Regions from separate parts of the Homo sapiens genome. Here region 1 is linked to region 2. Evidence: promoter capture Hi-C in human tissues and cell types (Jung and others, 2019). All regions are on one chromosome and are shown on one strand. Each heading gives the region's core, a stretch centred on a gene start or on the middle of the fragment in contact. The rest is flanking DNA. Distances are from core to core; before and after follow the strand shown. Region 1 overlaps YPEL2 (yippee like 2). Region 2 holds the start of YPEL2 (yippee like 2).

Region 1 (3,102 bases), core at 420-2,919, 56 kb after region 2:
TTTTTTTTTTAAATAGCTGGTTATGGTGGTATGCACCTGTGGTCCCAGTTACTCTGGAGGCTCAGGCAGGAGGATCGCTTGAGCCCAGAAGGTGGAGGCTACAGTGAGTCATGGTCACACCACTGCACTCCAGCCTGGGTGACAGAGTGGGACTCTCTTGGGGGAAAAAAAAAAGGAAAGAAAGAAAAAGGAAATGCAGGGAACATGAAGAGTCTAGAACATGAGTATCATTGGGTGCCTTTTTCTGGGGAGTTTAGGGAAAGCTTAATGAAAGAGGGGAGCTGAGCTGAGGCTTATTGGGTCAGGTGGAAGAGCCTCCCCATCAGAGGGAACTTCATGGGCAAAGTTAGTGCAATGCAACTTCCAGGAATTGCCTGTGGTTTGGCCTGACTGGAGTGAAGGACATAATGGGGAGGTAGCAAGAGAAGAGGCAGGAGAGGTGGCATGGCCAGGTCATGAAGCCCTGGAGTGGTGTTTGTGCTCCAGGATTGAACAGTGTGGCCAGGTCTAGACCTGTGTCGCTGGGACATTGTCTTATCCAAACACTCAGCATGGACTTCCAGGTTCCAGGTTTTGAGGCTTTGACACTCATAGCTGCTCAGTTGTAGCCTGGAAGCTGCTATATTCCCCAGGGATGTTTCAAGACCCCAAAAAGGAGAGAATTGGTTTGGGTCTGGGCACCAGCTGGGGAATATCTGCCTGCCCCTTGCAGATGCACCTGGGAGTGAAGGTGTCTGGTGTATTTGAATGTTGGAGGCAACCAACAATCCAGCTGCCCCAGAGGCAGTTTTTCCACAAGTAAAGAAGTTTGTTGGCTGGGTGTGGTGGCTCACACCTGTAATCCCAGTACTTTGGGAGGCCGAGGCGGGTGGATCACCAAGGTCAGGAGTTGAAGACCAGTCTGGCCAACATGGTGAAACCCTGTCTCTACTAAAAATACAAAAATTAGCCGGGTGTTGTGGTGCACACCTGTGGTCCCAGCTACTCAGGAGGCGGAGGCAGGACACTCGCTTGAACTCAGGAGATGGAGGTGCAGTGAGCCAAGATCGCGCAACTGCACTCTGGTCTGGATGACAGAGCAAGACTCCATCTAAAAAAAAAAAAAAAAAAAAAAAGAATTTTGTCTTTCACACTGGCTGGCAGCACTGATCCCTGACGTCCTGCACATCTGACAAAAATGATTGTCTCGCGTGCTGATCTGAGTCCTATCTGGTGCTCACCTACCCTCTGGTCATCTGTTAGCCACTCATCTCCTTGTTTGTTGGTTGGTTTTCAGAGCAGACTAAGATACTAAATTCAGGACACTGTTGTTAGACCACATTAAAAATGCAGGCGGCAGTGCAGAACATGGCTGGCTCATGTCAGGCCGACTTCTCAGTGTAACCAGAGAAGGAAAACATGGACAGGGCCCGTGTTAATGGAAGCAGACGCCAGATTGCATGGCAGGCTCTGGCTCCTGTTTCTCCTGTTCCCTGCCGCCCTCCAGCCAAAAGAAAGAAACTAATATGTAAGCTAGAGGTTAAAGTGGAATTGCTGCTTCATGAGCATTTCTGTGATGCAGAGATCAAGTTGCTTACATCTCAAAAGAGCTCCTGTGCTCCCATTTAGGATTGTAAACTGTCATGGCACTTAGGATCTTCTAGAAGGCATGACAAGCGATAAGTGTGGGTTGGATAGTTTTTTCTTGGGTCAGGGATTTTTTTGCTGCCTTTGGTAGAGCTGGACCAAGAGGCCAAGCGAAGGAGCTTGTGGTGGTTTCCATGCCTGGGCCAGCCTGGGAAAGCTGTGGCCAGCACAGATGGCTGAAATCAGGTGGGACCAGGAAACGCCAATGCGGATTAATGATCTCAGGTGAATTAATTACATCAGGCAATGTCAGGAGGGAAGAAGTTTTTAATGACATAGTGGTTTTGGGTTTTTTTCATTTTCTCACCTGGGCTAGTGAAAACAGTCCGGTGGGCCAGATCGAGCTTTGTGGCTCTGTTAATTCCGCCCTCTTCTCCGCCCCCACACCATCTGCCAGCGGGACCGTTAACTGGCTCAGTACTCCCTTTTGCTGTGTCAGTCCTGGAAGGTCATGCTTAACTGTGATTGGGGTTGGTTTCCCAAACAGATAGGTGAAATGGATGTCTAACTATCGATTTGTTTTCTTGCATTTCAGTCATTCCAAGGAAGTCAAGGACGAGCATACCTCTTTAACTCAGTGTGAGTGCCTCTGAATGGTACATTCCTTGTGGGGTACAGATTCGAGGGATGGGAAAAAGCAATCCTTGGTGATAATTAAACAATGAACCCTGCCCTGTCTGCCACAGTAAAACTCTGTGGAGCATTACTGTCCACAATTGGTAGTCAGTTACCTTTGGGGAACATTTCTTGCCAACATCTCTGGCTAAAAATAATATATTCACTACATTCCCCTCAGAGGGCACACCAGAGGACTGTAGTCCCACAGGGAAGAAGCTGAGGAGATTCTGAGAGCCTCAACCTGAAGGGCTCATAATGAGATCTGAGATTTGTCACTGGGGAAGAGAATATGGGTGAAAAAGACACCAAGATCTGCTGCGGGACCTAAGGAGGAAGGAAGGCCCACTTCGGGCAGATGCACAGTTTCCAGGGCACTCAGCCATCCCCAGGCACCAGGTTTATCACCTCTTCCCTGGGAAGGGAAGGTGAAGCCTACATAAGCCTGATAAACTGTAAAAATGAAAATCTGGCCTGTGGCTTGAGCTGGGCACCCTGTGAAGGAGTAGAGCCTATTCAGCACCCAGGGATCACTCATTCCTGTATCAGGACCACACTGTGCTATCATGTGTGGCATCTTCAGCTTCATTCAGTCCTCAGTAAGCTGTGAGGACCTGTGCCCATGGCTGTGGACTTCACAGTGTGGCTGTCAGCTTGTCCCCCTAAGTCACAGATTTAAAGTATTTGTTAGAAAAATTAAAATTTTAAGCAAACTCTCAACCATAAAGATTATTTCGGTAGACCCACTCCACTAGAACTTGCAGATCTGAATTTCCTTCCAGCTGAGATATTTCCCTGTGGCCACCTTTTGGGGATTGGTTTAGATCTGCTCAGCTCAGGGTTGGCTCCCCTTGGGACAGC
Region 2 (3,300 bases), core at 687-3,186:
CCTGCATACACACAGCAGGCCTGAAGGGGTCCTCAGAGCTCCCTCTGAAACCACTGTATCAGGCTAGTCTTCTTTAGCTAACGTTATCTTTTATTTAAACAGAAACAGTAGCCACCAGTCTTGTTACATAACATACCAATATCCTAGGGTGTTAAACTAATTCAGCATCTACTGTTAGGAAGTGGTGATGTGGCAACACAAATATTCGCTCACACAATATTGCGGAAACGTTGTAACAAACATGACTTTCTGGCCCTACTTAGAATTTCAGAGCTGGAAGGGACTTGAGATCATCCTATTTCAACCCTCCTTGTTTTAAACTGTGGAAACCTAGGCCTGGAGAGACAAAGAAACTTGCTCAAGAAGCAGATCAGGGCGAGACGGCAAGCTCTTACTAATCTAAAGAATCCATCACATCTTAGATTAAGGATTAAATGCTAAACAGTTCTTGTTTGTGATTCCTCTCATCTGAAAGCATTCCCCCCCCCCCCCCGTTTTAGACTCTCCAAACTAGTCAGTTGTGAACCAGGACATAGCCTTTGTTTACACTGAAACTGCAAATCTGAGGCTGATATGTCAGCCCCACAATACTGAGGTATTTGGGGTGTTTTGTTGTTTTTACTAACCTTGGTGACTGGATTCACATGCAATAGATATTAACTGAATACAATTTGGTTGACCAAGCATATTTTAAAAACAGCTGGGTGGAGATGCAGGTGAGCCAGCATTCTGGGTGTACGTGCAAACCAGTGTGTGGAAGGCGGAGAGTCAGCTGCACCTCCTGCAGCACCTCACATCCTGATGGCTGCACAGTAAAACACTAGTTTCCTTGGAGGAAGAGTTCCCAGAGGAACTGCGGAACCCCAGTGTCTTGAGCGAAAGGCAGGACCTGCTTTGTTCACCTTGTCCGTGCCAACATTCTTTATCAAACTGTCCTGTTTTCCTGCTGGGAAACTGCCCCACTCCACCCACCTGGTGCCTCCCTGGTTTCCTGACTGCCACGAGGTTATTTTTTAACCTGCTCTTCCTTGAAAAGCACCACCCCGGTGACCCAGAACGTGGACTCCTCCCCTCTGGTCACTCGGACCATCCCACTCTAATTACCGTCATCTGCCTCTGAAAGTCATGGAAAATTAGCAGCAATGGGGCGGTCTTCAATTCCACTAAGCCCCTTTCGTACTTTTAATTCGCCGAAATTACTAGCAGGGCAGAGAGAAGAGGGGAAATGCCTGGCTTCTGAGCAAGGCATGGGTGGGCTGGGTGCAACTAGCACTATCATTTTCTTTTAATTTTATTATTATTATACTTTAAGTTTTAGGGTACATGTGCACAATGTGCAGGTTTGTTACATATGTATACATGTGCCATGTTGGTGTGCTGCACCCATTAACTCGTCATTTAGCATTAGGTGTATCTCCTAATGCTATCCCTCCCCCCTCCCCCCTATCATTTTAAATTCAATTACCCGGGGCCTGAGGGCCACTTCTGGTAACTTAGGCTATGGCTTAGGGCGAGGTTTAAAACGTAAGAAAGGAATGACTATCTTGAGCCTCCAGGGAGATGCACTGCAAATCCCCCCGCCCCAAAATACAACCCAGGTTCTGGGAATCCCAGCCCTGCCCTGGGGACAAACCCCAAACTCAAATAAACGGCCTCCTCCTAGGCGCTGAGAGCCCACCCAGCTTTGGCACTCTGGGTCCCTGCCCTCCGGCAAGTTGCCGGGACGGGCGGGACCCTAACCAGCCGCTCTCCCCTAGCCCAGGCTGGGCCGGGCCGAGGGGTGGGGGAGTGGGCGGTCGGGGAAGCGGGGGGCGGAGTTCCGTCCTCTGATGATTGGCTCTGCGCGGATGGGCTGCGGCTGCGCCCGGCCAACCCGCGGCGTGTTGCTATGTGCTGAGCCGAGGGGATAGGTGCGGGGGCGCGTCCATCACGGGGTAGCCCCCGGCCCGGACCCGGAGGGATGCGGAGTGGCGGCCGCGGCGGTGGCGGAGACTGTGGCTTTAAGAGCGTGCCGGGAGCCCGAGCCCCAGCCGGGCCGCGCTTCGCCGCTGCGCACCCCAGCGGAGCCAAGCCCCACGCTGGCCGGACAGGGCCGCCTGTCGCCGGGTAAGTGCACCGGAGTGCGGCGCGGGCCGGGCGCGCGTGGGCGTGGGGCGCGCTGTCAGCTCGGGCTCTGGGTCCCCGGCCCCGGCCTCCGGACTCCCCCGGCCGGGCCTGCGCGGGGTTGGGGGTGCGGCGCCCTCGGTTCCGCGTGGGGTCCCCGTGGGCGCCGGGGACGGGGAGCGGCCGCCGGGCCACGTGACCGGTTTGTTTACAAACACTGCCGGGCCCGCGGCCGCTCGCGGAGGGAGCCCAAGGGCGCGGGACCCCCGGCCGGGGCGGGAGACGCGCGCCAGGGGCTGGGCGAGTCTGCGGGGCCAGGTTTGGGGCGGGGGTGCGGAGCTGGAATCGCCGCTTCCTCCTCCGCGTCGTCCCCATGGGTTCGGACTCCATGGGGTCCGGGTGGGGCTGGGGACGCCCTCCGTCCTCTCGTGACGCCGCGTTTCCCTCGGAGAGTCCTGGGGACACTTAGGTCCAGGGGCGCCGCCCTGGGGGCCTTCCACTGTGGGACTGGGCGCCCTCGAAATTTCTCGGAGCGCGTCGTCTGCCCCGACCCGGGTCGAGGTAACCGCAGCCGAGTTCCTCCCTGGCCGCGTCTCGGCGCCTCCCCGGTGTCCTTGCCAAGGGGGTGGGCGCGAGGTCCTGCCCGACGGAACGCGGGAGCCTCTGCCGCGAGCGCCTCCCCGGAGCTGGCGCTTAGGGGCGGCCCCGACCTTTCGCCACTTCCAGTTCACCCTGCTTGGCCGCCGACCTCCTCTGGTGTCTTTCCCGGAGTGGTGGGCTTTTCTCCGGTCTTGGGGGCGTGCGGGGGTGGGGGACACCTGTTCTTCTGGACTTCTTGTCCGGAAGATTGCTACCTCTGCCTTCAGTCTTAGCTGCGAGAGTTTAAAAAGCCAGGTGAGCGAGTGTCTTGTTTTCCTCCGCTTGGAGCGGAGCTGCACCCTCGCCCGCCCCCCAGTCCCGCCGCTGTGAAAGGCCCCAGAGAACTGCTCCGAAGCTTTGCTGGGGTTTTTGCTTTCTGGCCTCCTTGCTGATTTGCTGTCCTTGCAACTTGGGAGGCTCTTGAGTGAGTCCTTGCCTTTGGTGAATCTGAAGGCTAACGAGACAGCTGTCTTTTCCTCCCTGCCCTTCCTTCCTTGTTCTTCCTTGTTCCAAAGCATTGGGCAAGAAGGGTAGCGGTCAGCTTCCCTGTGCCTCACA

Evidence for each region. The method cuts DNA at HindIII sites, captures the fragments that hold promoters and counts their contacts. A contact is called where the count stands out against the background at its distance.
Region 1: a fragment that was not itself captured here is called in contact with the fragment with the promoter of YPEL2 in region 2 in 2 of the 25 tissues and cell types used here (lymphoblastoid cells and spleen).

What each region holds. Positions count from the first base shown.
Region 1 is chr17:59,386,166-59,389,267 of GRCh38, forward strand. YPEL2 (yippee like 2) reads left to right here. Exons shown (of 5, transcript NM_001005404.4): 3 at 2,162-2,205. Among named protein-coding and RNA genes, the nearest start is that of MIR4729, 22 kb to the left of the region's middle. The HindIII fragment of the contact is 8,502 bases long and covers 1-3,102 here.
Region 2 is chr17:59,329,719-59,333,018 of GRCh38, forward strand. YPEL2 (yippee like 2) reads left to right here and starts at 1,937. Exons shown (of 5, transcript NM_001005404.4): 1 at 1,937-2,106. RefSeq lists a silencer at 1,703-2,222 and an enhancer at 2,433-2,994. The HindIII fragment of the contact is 13,001 bases long and covers 1-3,300 here.